Linked DNA regions of Homo sapiens: region 2 is linked to region 1. Evidence: promoter capture Hi-C in 16 types of primary human blood cells and fetal thymus (Javierre and others, 2016). All regions are on one chromosome and are shown on one strand. Each heading gives the region's core, a stretch centred on a gene start or on the middle of the fragment in contact. The rest is flanking DNA. Distances are from core to core; before and after follow the strand shown.

The links. Contacts are between HindIII fragments. The CHiCAGO score rates a contact against its expected background, and 5 or more counts as called.
Region 2: a contact is called between a fragment that was not itself captured here and the fragment with the promoter of DNAJC5B in region 1, in 1 of 17 cell types (endothelial precursors). The highest score is 6.1, in endothelial precursors.

What each region holds. Positions count from the first base shown.
Region 1 is chr8:66,018,126-66,024,715 of GRCh38, forward strand. It overlaps DNAJC5B (DnaJ heat shock protein family (Hsp40) member C5 beta), which reads left to right and starts at 3,428. Exons shown (of 6, transcript NM_033105.6): 1 at 3,428-3,580. LOC105375883 (a long non-coding RNA gene) reads right to left here and starts at 3,356. Exons shown (of 7, transcript XR_929008.3): 1 at 3,299-3,356; 2 at 2,898-3,108. The HindIII fragment of the contact is 2,733 bases long and covers 863-3,595 here.
Region 2 is chr8:66,396,346-66,402,935 of GRCh38, forward strand. All of the region lies in intron 1 of LOC102724687 (a long non-coding RNA gene), which reads right to left. Among named protein-coding and RNA genes, the nearest start is that of RRS1-DT, 29 kb to the right of the region's middle. The HindIII fragment of the contact is 1,194 bases long and covers 1,810-3,003 here.

The DNA.
Region 1 (6,590 bases), core at 2,178-4,677:
CCATCAGGCCTAGGAACCTGCTAAAAGTGTCAAGTCTTGAGCCTCACTCTAGACATCCCAAACTAGAAACTTGATGGGTGGGGCCTGCAATTTGTGTTTTAACAAGTCCTCAGCCGGGCGCAGTGGCTCACTTCTGTAATCCCAGCACTTTGGGAGGCCGAGGCGGGTGGATCACGAGGTCAGGAGTTCAAGACCAGCCTGGCCAAAATGGTGAAACTCCATCTCTACTAAAATTACAAAAAATTAGCTGGGCGTGGTGGGGGGGGTGCCTGTAAGCCCAGCTACTAAGGAAGCTGAGGCAGAGAATTGCTTGAACCCGGGAGACAGAGGTTGCAGTGAGCTGAGATCGTGCCACTGCACTCCAGCCTGGGCAACAGAGTGAGACTCCATCTCAGAAAACAAAACAAACAAACAAACAAAAAACAAAAACAAGTCCTCCAGGCACTCTTTGGTTTGCTCTAAAGTTTGGGAACTTCTGGCCTAGAGCATTGTTCTCAAGTATTTGTGTACACCTACACCACAAGCTCCTGGAGAAGCTTGACTTAACATGAGTCTCTCACTCAGGCCGTGAGATTTGGAGGCAGTAAATGCAGGAAGCTGTGTGGGAATCTGTATATATATATATATAAAGTAGGTGATTCTGGTGCAGGTGGTCTGTAGAACACAATTTGAGAAATTCTGCCTTGAAGTGGAATTTAAGTGTTGACAAAATTAGCATTTCCCCCCACAAAATCCTCCTCCATAACTAAGCAAAAACCTTTGAACTCTGACTTACAAATATCTATAGCTTTCACTTAGCCTGCAGAGTGCCTGCTTCTGAAGAGCTATGCAGGCTTCCCTCATCACTGCCATAGGGGACTGAAGCTTCTGTGTGCTCCAGGTGTGAGGCTTTGCCTGCCTCTGCTACAGGTGTGCACCTGTTTCAACACAGGGATGTATGCTCAAAGGATGCGGCATAACCCACACCTCCACAGAATGTACAGTATTGAGTATGCTCAGCCAAGACAAAACACAAGGAGAGATGTCATTTTTATTTGCCCTGAGATGATAGCTGGAGGAAGACTGCTTTGAGCAAAGAGGTTTGATCCCTGCATATCCTGCCAGAGGAATACCCTGTTCTAAGCAAGGTGACCTTTCAAGCAAGTTTTGAGAATTACTGATTTAGTATGCAAGGTATGCATAAATATATCTAACTGTGATTTGGGGTCAGACACACACTGCATATCTTTTTTCCATTGAACCTTTTATAGATCAGAGGTGAAAAAAGAGATTTTTTAATGCAGAAAGGTGAAGTTTGTGATGGCAAAAAAAGGGATTACTTGTGATTTTATTAAATCAGTCATATGTTTTCTTCAAGGTATTGGGACCAAATTCATGCATTAATAACATTACTTTGTTTTCATTGTATTTGTTTTTATTGTCATCTGACATTTAAGGCAATTAATACTGTATTTCTACTTATGTTAATAATAAAAAATACCTTTAAATAATTTTATTCCAGTAAAATGTATGAATTAATTTAAAGGAAAATGTTAAGTAAATATTAGTGCAGATGGCAATATTCTGAAGATGCCACATGAATAATCAAAGTGTGGGAAACCCTGACATTATTTTCATGAGTTCAGCATAATCCATTTTACCACTTTTCCAATGCTGAGCTTTATATTTGTTTTCTGTTATAAACAGTGCTTCAAAAAACCTCTTGTAGCTAAATATTTTTCATATCCATAATGGTTCTCTTAGGAGAATTCACAGATGTGGAATTGTTGGAAGAAAGGGCAATAATTATATTATTTTAAAGTTTAAAATTAGTGTCCATTAACCATTTCCCTAAGATTTTATGAAGACATTTAGGAAGTTAGTAAAGCAGTATTTATGACCTACGGGAATACTTTCTTCCTTGTTACTCAAAGGGTTGCTTAAGGCAGTGGCCTTCAAGTGTGTTCTGGGACCAAATGACAATTTCTCCCCAACCAGCAAAGCCCTGTGGTGGGGAAAAGGCTTGGTGGAAGATCTGGTTTGTAGTTAATGTTAAGTAACCTTTCCACTTAATTAGCTTTGTGATCTCGTGCAAGACACAACTTCTCTAAGCTATAATTTTCTCATCCAGAAAATTATACTGAAAATAATACTTTGTTTATCTCACCAAGTTGTGAAGATTAAATAGAGTGATATGTGTGAAAATAGCTTGTAAATGAAGCATGATGTAAAATGTTATTGGTATTATGAAAGCCCAATATATGTTCTCCTCTTGAGAGATTCTTAAAGCACAATTCTCTGACTTCACAGATACGTCGTCTGATGCAATACAGATACTTTTTAGTATCATATGGGGTTAGCGTCTAGAAAAAGTGAAGGGTATGAAATAATGAAGAATGAAATTCCAGTGAGACTCTATTTCTTTACAGATTGCTCCTCCCTGTCCCTTACTCAACACTAGAACCTGGTATAGCGCTGTAATCAATACTCTGTGTGTGTGTGTGTGTGTGTGTGTGTGTGTGTGTGTGTGTGTGTGTGTGTGTGTGTGTTTTAGACAAGGTTTCATTCTGCCGTCCAGGCTGGAGTGCAGTGGTGCAATCTCAACTCATTGCAGCTTCGATATCTTGGGTTTAAGCGATCATCCCCTGTCAGCCTCCTGAGTAGTTAGAACTACAGGCACGCACAACTACGCCCAGCTAATTTTTGTATTTTTTGTAGAGATAGGGTCTCACTATATAGCTCGGGCTGGTCTCAAACTCCTGGGCTCAAGTGATCCTCCCACCTCAGCCTCCCAAAGTGCTGGGATTACAGGCATGAGCCATCTCGCCCTGCCAACACTAACTCTGGACTTTCATTTGAGCTTTGCTGCTTATCATCAAATCTCAATGAAAACATTAGTTGCTCAGAAGTCACCTTACTTGTTAATCTAGAAATGGTCTGGTGGCTCAGGATTTCTGAGTCTGGGCTGGGACCAGAGCCAGCTACTCCTGGCACCTGTGTTGCTGGGGAAACATGATCTTCACTGAGACTCTGTTCTCTTCCCATAATGTACATTATCCAAATGGTCTCTTGTTGTGGGTGGATTCGGGTAAAAATTGTCTTCACCACGTGGGGCCTCAGTTTCCTCATCTGCAAAAAAAAAGGAGTTAGATGAGAATCTGGTCACTAGCCGGTCTTCTAGGTCTCTCCCCACAGTTAAGATCCCATAATTCTGCAGGTCAGTTTATGACCTGCAAAGGGATTCTTCCCTGAGGGCCCTCACAAGGTTTTGAATGGCAGAGCAAATGGAAATGGGGGAATGTCCTTCCCAACCTCCCACCATGGGCAGGAGAGGAAGTGTTGTCCAAGAGGGCCTCAGCTGGACCATCTGGAGGAGTGAGGATTCCACTCTGTGACATCACAATATCCAGCCCAGGTTTGACCTTGACAACTGGGAAGGAGAAATAACAGGAGGCGCAGTTACTGATATAGCCAAGGTGGGACACTACTGGAGGGAGCTAGAAGGGATCAGCCAGCCATGCCTCCAGTTCAGGTACTTGGCATTGCTAAGCTCAGAACAGGACTTGCCAGTGTCTAGATGAAAAAGAGGAGAGATCTCAAGGTGAGTGTGTCTCCAAGCTTAAGAAGAATAGTATAAGCACAGACGGCTTGTGCCCCAGCTGCGTTAGGGTAATGTAAGGTTCCACACGAGCAGAAGCAGAGCTGGGCGCATCTTGCCAACAGCCAGGCTGCTTGCCATGAAGCCGGACGGTGAGGACATTTCCGAGGCTGTAGTCCACTTGTGCTGCTGGTGATATATTTCTATTTAGAGGTTTTTTTCTTTCAATAGCTCCTCCCCGGATGACAGGGTAGAGTAAACAAAAATAAGTTAACTAAGGAAGTATTTTAATAGAAGCCAGTACAAAAACAAACAAAAGTAATAAAAGGTGCAAAGTTGTATTATGGGTTAGCAAGCAAGACTGACTCTAAGGTCAAGTTTTGAAAGTTCAAATCTTGAAAGGCAAAAGGATACCCCTATAAAGAGTAAAAGAGAAGGGCCTTTTGGTTGAGAAGTAAGTAAAACAGCTCTGCTGGAACATATACCGGACCCCCCACCCCGCCCCCAGCAACTCCTGCCAGTGAAATCATTGCTGGGGATGCGGACAGTTCTGTTTTCTTTACCTTGCCTTGGGGTTTTGGCTTCTACAATACTTGTTTCTTCCTGGAGTCTTGGGGCCCTGAGAGGCTCTGAGTGACGGCAAAGAACTGTTCTGTTTACCAGTGGGGCGGAGCATGGGGCCAGCGCCAGGCCCTGACTCATCCCCATGTGGACTCCCTTGGGTCTTAGCACACTGCGACCCCGGAGTTGGAGCACAGGACAGCTCAGGCAGGCACGCTGAGCTCTGCCTGCAAGGTCAGAGTTGATGGCGATGCTCCCTCAGTGGGAGTAAGAGTCCATGTTCTGACAGGTAGGTCAGTTACCCACAGGGGACCCCAACAGCCATCGACAAGAAGAGGAGGAGATGGATTCTCTATCCACAGGACACAACTCTAACTCTCCTTGGCCTCCAACACATCACGAATAAATATATCACAGCAGTAAGGTCAATACTCTCACACTCTATGAAAGTAGTAATAGTCCCCAAAGCATGTAAAACTGAGAGATCCAGATAAAAGCAAAATATACTTGCACATAAACTTCATAGCACACATTCAACTTCTGTACAGAAGTCACTGTGATTTTCACAATTAGGTTATGATCTAATCATAACCACTTAAGACTTGAACATTAAAATCTCATTGGCCCAGTTTTTAGGCTTCCTTCATTGATAGCCATTGAAAACTAAGTTTAAGCTGAACCTCAGATAATACCCACAAAACACAGAATGTCCTAACTCATCTCCATTTGCATTTGTTGACTGTAACGTTCCCTGATCCTTGTGTTAGTCACATGCTGCTGCAGCCTGTCGCATACTGCAGAATTTTAGAGTCGGAGGGGAACTAGAAGATCATCCATTCCACAGCTTCGTTTCCAGGAGAAACCACACAGAGAAGTGTCTCAGCTAAGGGTATCAAGCTAGTTAGTGCTGGGGACTAAAGTTTAAGCCCCCTCACTCTTAGCCTGGTGGCCTCTCCAATACACTCTGCCCCACAATGAATGAATGTATTGGTTCATATTTGAACTAACTCTTTGATTTTCTAAGTTAGAATATTCTAAAAGGAGGAAATCTCATTTATCACCTTGGTGTGGTTATTGGTAAAAGCAGATATTCTCCTAGCCTCTGCACCTCCATACAAGATAAGCTTTGGTCAATGACAAGAAAAAGCACTGAAGACCCCATTCAAAACACTGAGATAACAGTGAAAATAAAACCAGGGAAATTGACTAGCTACTGTAAATTGAGGGCTGATTAGAAGTAATCCTTTTTTTCTTAAAAAAACATGTATACAATTTACCAGATTTTTACTTTATAATAAATATACGGTCTTCCTGTGGCCTTGTCTTTTCCTGTTTAGGTAGATAATACTTTGTTTATGAATGTGTGTGTGTATACCCTTGAATGTACAGATGAGTAAACACTTTATCTGGCAGGTGTGGGGCTGGCTATTACATCCATCCGTGGTATCCGACCTACACTTACTTACCTAATATATCTTCTATATGAGCCTTCTGTGACTTATCCCATGAATTAATATTCTATTTGGAATTAACATGATAGTGTAGGAGGAGCCTCCTTAGACTTGTCCAGGGTTTGACATACATGAAGCTATATATGTCTTGCATCCGTAATTAATCTGCAAGTTTGAGCCCAGGCAGTCCCTGGGTGCAGGTAGTCAGCGTTTTTCCAATTAAATTTATTGCAAATGTACTAATATCAGCCCAAAGATCCAAATTCTGAAAGAAAATGAAATGAAATGAAGAATTTTTAAATATAAATAGAGACCTAACTTTTATAGTCATCAGCGCCATCATTAACCTTAGAGATGTCTGGTAAGTATTTTCTAGGCCATTAGATTGTTTTTTAGCCAACTAAAATGTGTACTTCCTGTAAGGATTTTCCATATGTTTCTGGTATTACATGCAGGTTGCCTTTAATAAAAGATAATTATGAAGCAATTACCAACAAGAAGGAGCATAAGAAAGAGCATTCCATCATGGCATAGGCTTTACACAGTTGTTGTAATAACTTTCAGCTTCCTTATTAATTTTAAAAGTTGTGTAATATACTGAGTAATTTTACACACACTACAGTGTATAACTGCAGAAGAAAGCTAATTGTGAAAAACAGAGGGATAAAAGAAGTTTTAGTTTCAGGATTCTTTTTTTTTTTTTTTTTAATGTTTTTTTTTTATTATTATACTCTAAGTTTTAGGGTACATGTGCACATTGTGCAGGTTAGTTACATATGTATACATGTGCCACGCTGGTGCGCTGCACCCACTAACGTGTCATCTAGCATTAGGTATATCTCCCAATGCTATCCCTCCCCCCTCCCCCGACCCCACCACAGTCCCCAGAGTGTGATATTCCCCTTCCTGTGTCCATGTGATCTCATTGTTCAATTCCCACCTATGAGTGAGAATATGCGGTGTTTGGTTTTTTGTTCTTGCGATAGTTTACTGAGAATGAT
Region 2 (6,590 bases), core at 1,157-3,656, 380 kb after region 1:
TAGAAGCCTAGAGGTTTAGGGATTTGATGGCCTGGGGTAGAAAAAGACTTACTTTTCACTGTGCATTTATTCCTTTTTGTTTAAAATACAAATATTTGCATTTCCCTGATCATTAGTGATGTTGAGCATTTTTTCATATGTTTGTTGGCCATTTGTATGCCCTCCTTTGAGAATTGTCTATTCATGTCCTTAAGCCCACTTTTTGATGGGATTGTTTGTTTTTTCTTGCTAATTTGTTTGAGTTTGTTGTAGATTCTGGATATTAGTCCTTTGTCAGATATACAGATTGTGAAGACTTTCTCCCACTCTGTGGGTTGTCTGTCTACTCTGCAGACTGTTCCTTTTGCAGTGCAAAAGCTCTTTAGTTTAATTAAGTCCCAGCTATTTGTTTTTGTTTTTATTAAATTTGCTTTTGGGTTCTTGATCATGAAATCCTTGCCTAAGCCGATGTCTAGAAGGGCTTTTCCAATGTTGTCTTCTAGAATTTTTATAGTTTCAGGTCTTAGATTTAAGTCATCGATCCATCTTGAGTTGATTTTTATATAAGGTGAGAGATAAGGATCCAGTTTCATTCTCCTACATGTGGCTTGTCAATTATCCCAGCACCATTTGTTGAATAGGGTGTCGTTTCCCCACTTTATGTTTTTGTTTGCTTTGTTGAAGATCAGCTGGCTGTAAGAATGGCCAAAATAAAAAAAAAATCGATGTTGGCATGGATGTGGTGAACAGGGAACACTTTTACACTGCTGCTGGAATGTAAACTAGTACAACCATTATGGAAAACAGTGTGGAGATTCCTTAAAGAACTAAAAGTAAAACTACCATTTGATCCAGCAGTCCCACTACTGGGTATCTACCCAGAGGAAATGAAGTCATTATATGAAAAAGATATTTGCACACACATGTTTGTAGCAGCACAATTTGCAATTGCAAAAACGTGGAACTAACCCAAATACCCATCAATCAATGAGTGGCTAAAGAAACTGTGGAATACTACTCAGTAGTAACTGTGGAATACTACTCAAATGGAATACTACTCAGCCATAAAAAAGAATGAATTAATGGCATTCACAGCAACCTGGATGAGATTAGAGACTATTATTTTAAGTGAAGTAACTTAAGAATGGAAAACCAAACAGCATATGTTCTCACTCACATGTGGGAGCTAAGCTATGAAGATGCAAAGGCATAAGAAAAACATGTGGATTTGGGGGACTCAGAGGGTGAGGGATAAAAGACCACAAATTGGGTGCAGTGCATACTGCTTGGGTGATGGGTGCATCAAAATCTCACAAATCACCACCAAAGAACTTACTCATGTAACAAACACTACCTTTTCCCCAATAACCTATGGAAATAAAAATAATAATACATTTTTTAAAAAATACAAATATTTTTTAAAAACTTAAATGACTCCTGATCCTCTTTTAAAAGATTCTTGGCTGGGTGCTGTGGCTCATGCCTATAATCCCAGCACTTTGGGAGGTCAAGGTGGGCGGATCACCTGAGGTCAGGAATTCAAGACCAGCCTGGCCAACATGGTGAAATCTCATCTCTACTAAAAATACGAAAATTAGCTGGGCATGGTGGTGGGAGACTGTTATCCCAGCTACTTGGGAGGCTGAGACAGGAGAATCGCTTGAACCCAGGAGGCAGAGGTTGCAGTGAGCCAAGATCATGCCATTGCACTCCAGCCAGGGTGATGAGAATGAAACTCCGTCTCAAAAAAAAAAAAAAGATTCTCAAAATTTGGTCTGAAAGATACAACAAAATTGTCTTAGTTTCATAAAGCCAATGTTCCATATCAGAAGCTTTCATCAGATAACTACCAAAGCATTCTTTCATTTTTAACTCTAACTGTCCCTTCTGGGAGTCATCAATTTTGTAACTATGAAATCTCCCTCCCTGCTAATCACCACTCAACACCCATATACTTGTTTCCCATCAGTCAGAGGACCAGATTTGGGTATTTCTATTTTAGATAATACATGATTGATGTTCTTATACTGAGGCTTGAAACAAAAAAGATACTGAAAAACAGCCACACTAGGGATGAAATTATAAATATACATATTAAACAGTCGGTTAAATATAAAAAACTAATGAGAGAGGAAATGGGGAGATGTAGGTCACAGGATACAAAGTAGCAAGTAAGATGAACAAGCCAAAAGATCCAGTGTATAAGATGACGACTGTAGTTAATAGTAGTGTATTGTATTCAGGAGTTTTGCTAAATGAGTAGATGATAGCTGCTCTTGCCACAGGGGGAAAAATGCATAAGTATATCAGATAATGAATATGTTAATTTATTCTACCATATATATGTGTATATATATACATATGTGTACACATTTGTATACATATATCTAAAATATACACAGTAAAATTTATTTTTATAGAAAGAGCTAATGATAAATTATGCAGATAGTAAAATTTTAACCATCAATCCTTCCTCCCTGGTATGATTAATTCAGGGTCTTGGTTCAGCTCTTTTACACTGTGTTTCAATCTCGGGTCCTCTTCTAAATGAACTGTAATTTATTCATACATTCCTAAGGCAGAGATATTTGTAGTGGCAATGCCTCAGATGAAAAGACTACTTTTCTTATATTCCTTTGCAGCCAGGTGTGGCCATGTGACTGAGCTCTACTCAGTGAGAACTGTTGTGGCACGTTCTGGACGATGCCTCAGTGAGGCGATGCGCATCTTTTGCCTTTCCTTTGTCTCCTGGGAAGTGATTTTGAGGATAGAAGGTATGCGCTGAGGATGATGGGACAGAATCATGAAGCCTCCATCCAAGACTTCGCTCCTTCCTATGGATTTCTTTTATGTGGGAGAATAAATAATTGTGTGGTTGAGCCACTGTTATTTAGAGTTTTTATTATATGCTATTTATGTAAGTTTTCTTTCTCTTTCTCCTGCACATTCTTTACTCTTCATGCTCACTCTTCTTTTCTGTAATTCCTGTACTTTTGAACACTGTGAAGTGTTCTGTTTTCTGGAAGCTTTACCTTTCCTGCACACCCTACCCTCTGCAATCCACTCTGTCTCTTGCTTAGGGCCACTACTAAGTGCTCTCTTGTATCCCTGGCTGCTGTGGCTGCTTTACCAGCTCCACCATGCTGCATTCTCAACACAAAGTGCTATCCACTCTGCAGTTCTGTCATTTGCAACTAGTTCCCACTAGGAATGTCAGCTCTCAGAAGGAAGGGACAGTCTAGTCCATGGCTATATTCCTAGAACTTTGAACAGTGCTTGACTTTTAGTAACCACTTCATAAATATTTCATCCCATTTACTCAGCAAATGTTTGTTGAGCACCTAGTATGTGCCAAGTACCTTTCTAAGCACTAGGGACACATCAATGAACAAAATGGATTAAAAAAACTGCTTTCCTGTGGCACTTATATTCTACTGTGGGAGAAATAAAAATAAATAACACTAAACCAATCCATCAATGAAAAAATTAAATTAATAATCCAGCATGTTAGCAGGGAGAGGTGCTATGGAAAATCAAACAGGGCAGAGGAGATTGGCAGTCTCACAGTGCAGAAGAGGGGCAAGTAGGGAGGGGGTCAAAGTTTAATTAAAGGAGTTAAGAGTTGGCCCTTAGAGAAGGCAGTGTTTAAGCCAGAACTTGAAGGTGGTGGGAAAGGGAGCCATTCCGATATCCCAGGAACAAGCACTCCTGGCAGCTAGGACCATGAGGGAACAGCCCGTGCAAAGAGCCTGTGGCTTCAGGTAATAGTGAGGAGGATACTGAGCCTAGAGGAGAGTGAGTAGGTGGGAGGGAGGTGTAAGAAAAGGTCAGAGAGTGGCCAGGCATGGCCTGTAATTATCATGGGATTATCATGCCTATAATCCCAGCGCTTTGGGAGGCTGAGGCAGGAGAGGATCGCTTGAGGCCAGGAGTTTGAGCCCAACCTCGGCCACAGAATGAGAACCTGTCTCTAAGAAAATTAAAAAAAAAAAAATCCAGGTGTTTTGTGGTGGTGTGTACCTGTAGTCCTAGCTACTCACGAGGCTGAGGCTAGCCTGGGCAACAGAATGAAACCCTGTTTCTGAAAAGGAAAAAAAAAAGTCAGAGTTTTTTTTTTTTTTTAACGGAGTCACTCTGTTGCCCAGGCTGGAGTGCAGTGGCATGATCTCAGCTCACTGCAAGCTCCGCCTCCCGGGCTCACGCCATTCTCCTGCCTCAGCCTTCCAAGTAGCTGGGACTACAGATGCCCACCACCACGCCCGAAAAAGTCAGAGATCTTGAACCGTGTAAGTCAATCTCTGTTCTTTGGCTGTCACTCTGAGTGACATGAGGAGCCATGGCAGGGCTTAGGGCAGAAGAGAAGAGAGATAGGATGTGACTTTAACTTTAGAAGGATACTCTAGCTGCTGTGTTGGGAACACACTATAAAGAAACAAAAATGGAAGCAAAAAATTAGGAAAACTCCAACAACCCGGGTGAAAGACGGCTAAAAGCATGGACCAGGATATCGCAAAAGGTGGGGGAAATGTTCAGATTCTAGATATATTTGAATATAGAAGCAAAGGAATTTGCTGGCCAATTAGATATGGGGAATGAAAAAAGAAAGAATCAAGGATGACTCCAAGTTTTTTGGCTTGGCTCCCTGGAAAAATGATGTTGCCATTGACAAAACAGGGAAAACCACAGATGAAGCGGACTCGGAGGGAGGATTATGGTATGGCTGCATGAAGGGGGAGACTTCTATCAGACGTTCCAGCAGAGATATCCAGTAGGCAGTTGGATATATACACCTAGAGCTCAAACAAAAGTTCTGGGCCAAGAGTATAAACTTTGGAGTCATCATGAGCAGATGAATAAAGGGCTCTTTTTGTCATCACCTGAAAAATTATTTACCAAATTTCCTTCTTCAAGGAAGCTTAACATTTTGTAGCTGAAGGAATGGCTTCTGAAGAGTATGAATAAGACCATTTATAAAAGAAACCAGTCAAAACCTCACCCTATGATGCTTCCCATTCTTTCATTTTAAAGTAATGTTTCACAAAACATTTCTGAAGACCCCCCGAATCGGAATAAGATCAACTCTTGTAATAAGTACCATTATGATTCTCATGCACGCTCAAATCTGAAAACCACCCACTCTGCATGTGTAACTCTGTGGCATACAGTGTCATTTGGCAGTTCCCATTTTCATACCTGTTGTGGCCACTAACTGTAGGTCACAAACGATGGGCACAGCCTAAGGGCAGAGTCACTAGGAATCCCTGATATTCAATTCATTTTATAATAGCCATAGACTAACACATGTTAATAAGATTTATCAATATTCAAAGAAATATTTTTCCGAGCAACCTTCTGAATCATTTCCTGCATCATCTCCATAGCAACTCTGATCATTCACCTTTAAGTTGTATTTCTCTTGCTCTGAGCTATAACAACTTTGGTGTGGATGAGCATTAATGTTTCAGAAAAGATGCTGCTGTTTCTCAACCATATGTAATTCTCTGGTCTTAACATTTAGAAACCTGCATTCCCATGAGAGTTTTCCAGTTCCTTCTAATCTTGACTTTTTTTTTCTTTTACTATTTTTTGCTTGCTGATGATGTTTAAGAGCACATGAAACTATACTATAGTCTGATGAATTGGAAAGTCCTCACAAAGTATAACTGGTTACTCAGAGAAACACACCAGACACTTGAAAGGATTACACAGGTTCCCTTTCAAGAAAATGCTAATTCCAGGAGATTGCACAAACACACTTAACAGGTTCCTTAGGTAATTATTTTTAGGCTCAGATTAGCCTATAGTTACTAAATAATATTTTCAAAATTGCAGAGAAGGCATAAACCCAAAGATCTCTGCAAGTACTCAGAAGGTGTGGCCGTTGTGGCTAGCGCTCCTGCATGGCAGTTACCAGTTATGTCAGTGTGGGGTAGTCATGGTGGGGTCTCCCCCATGCTCTTGTTAGCTGTGCCTCATCTGGCTTTGTTCAGGTACATTTCTTGCCTGGCCCTTTTGGTATTGGACTTAACCATTCCTACCTAGATTCATTGTTCTTATAGGTTTAGACCCTGGAACTACATTTCCAATCTCCTATATCACGAAAAAAGAAAGAAAGAAAAGAAAAGCCACTTGACTCAGCATGCCATGCCATGGAGACTCTGGTAGAAGAGAATCTTTAGAAAGCATTTGCCCCATTTTTTACATCATAAAGCCCAAACTGTGGTATCTCTAGGGCTTTTTTTCCCAAAATTTTAATTATTTTTGACTTTAGCTTTACTGGACAAAAGATTTACATTTTAAAATATAGTAGCAATTTGTCATGTGTCTCAAATTTTAAAATGATACCACATTATACTTTTATAACTTAATCGTAGAAAACATTAATCAATTTGATACATGGGCTGCAACAAAATTTCACAAAAGAGCCCAGGGACTGAGAGTCCAGAGCAGCAATTAGAGATAATAAGGCACCATGGGGTTTTGAGAGAGCCCAAGCCTGAGGTCGCTGGCCCCGAGCATCTCTAAAACGGGCTCTGATCTGACTTTTGTAACCCAAAGAAGACAGGAGCCAGGAGGGGAGAGGGCAAATGGTGCAGAGTCAAAAAATGCAG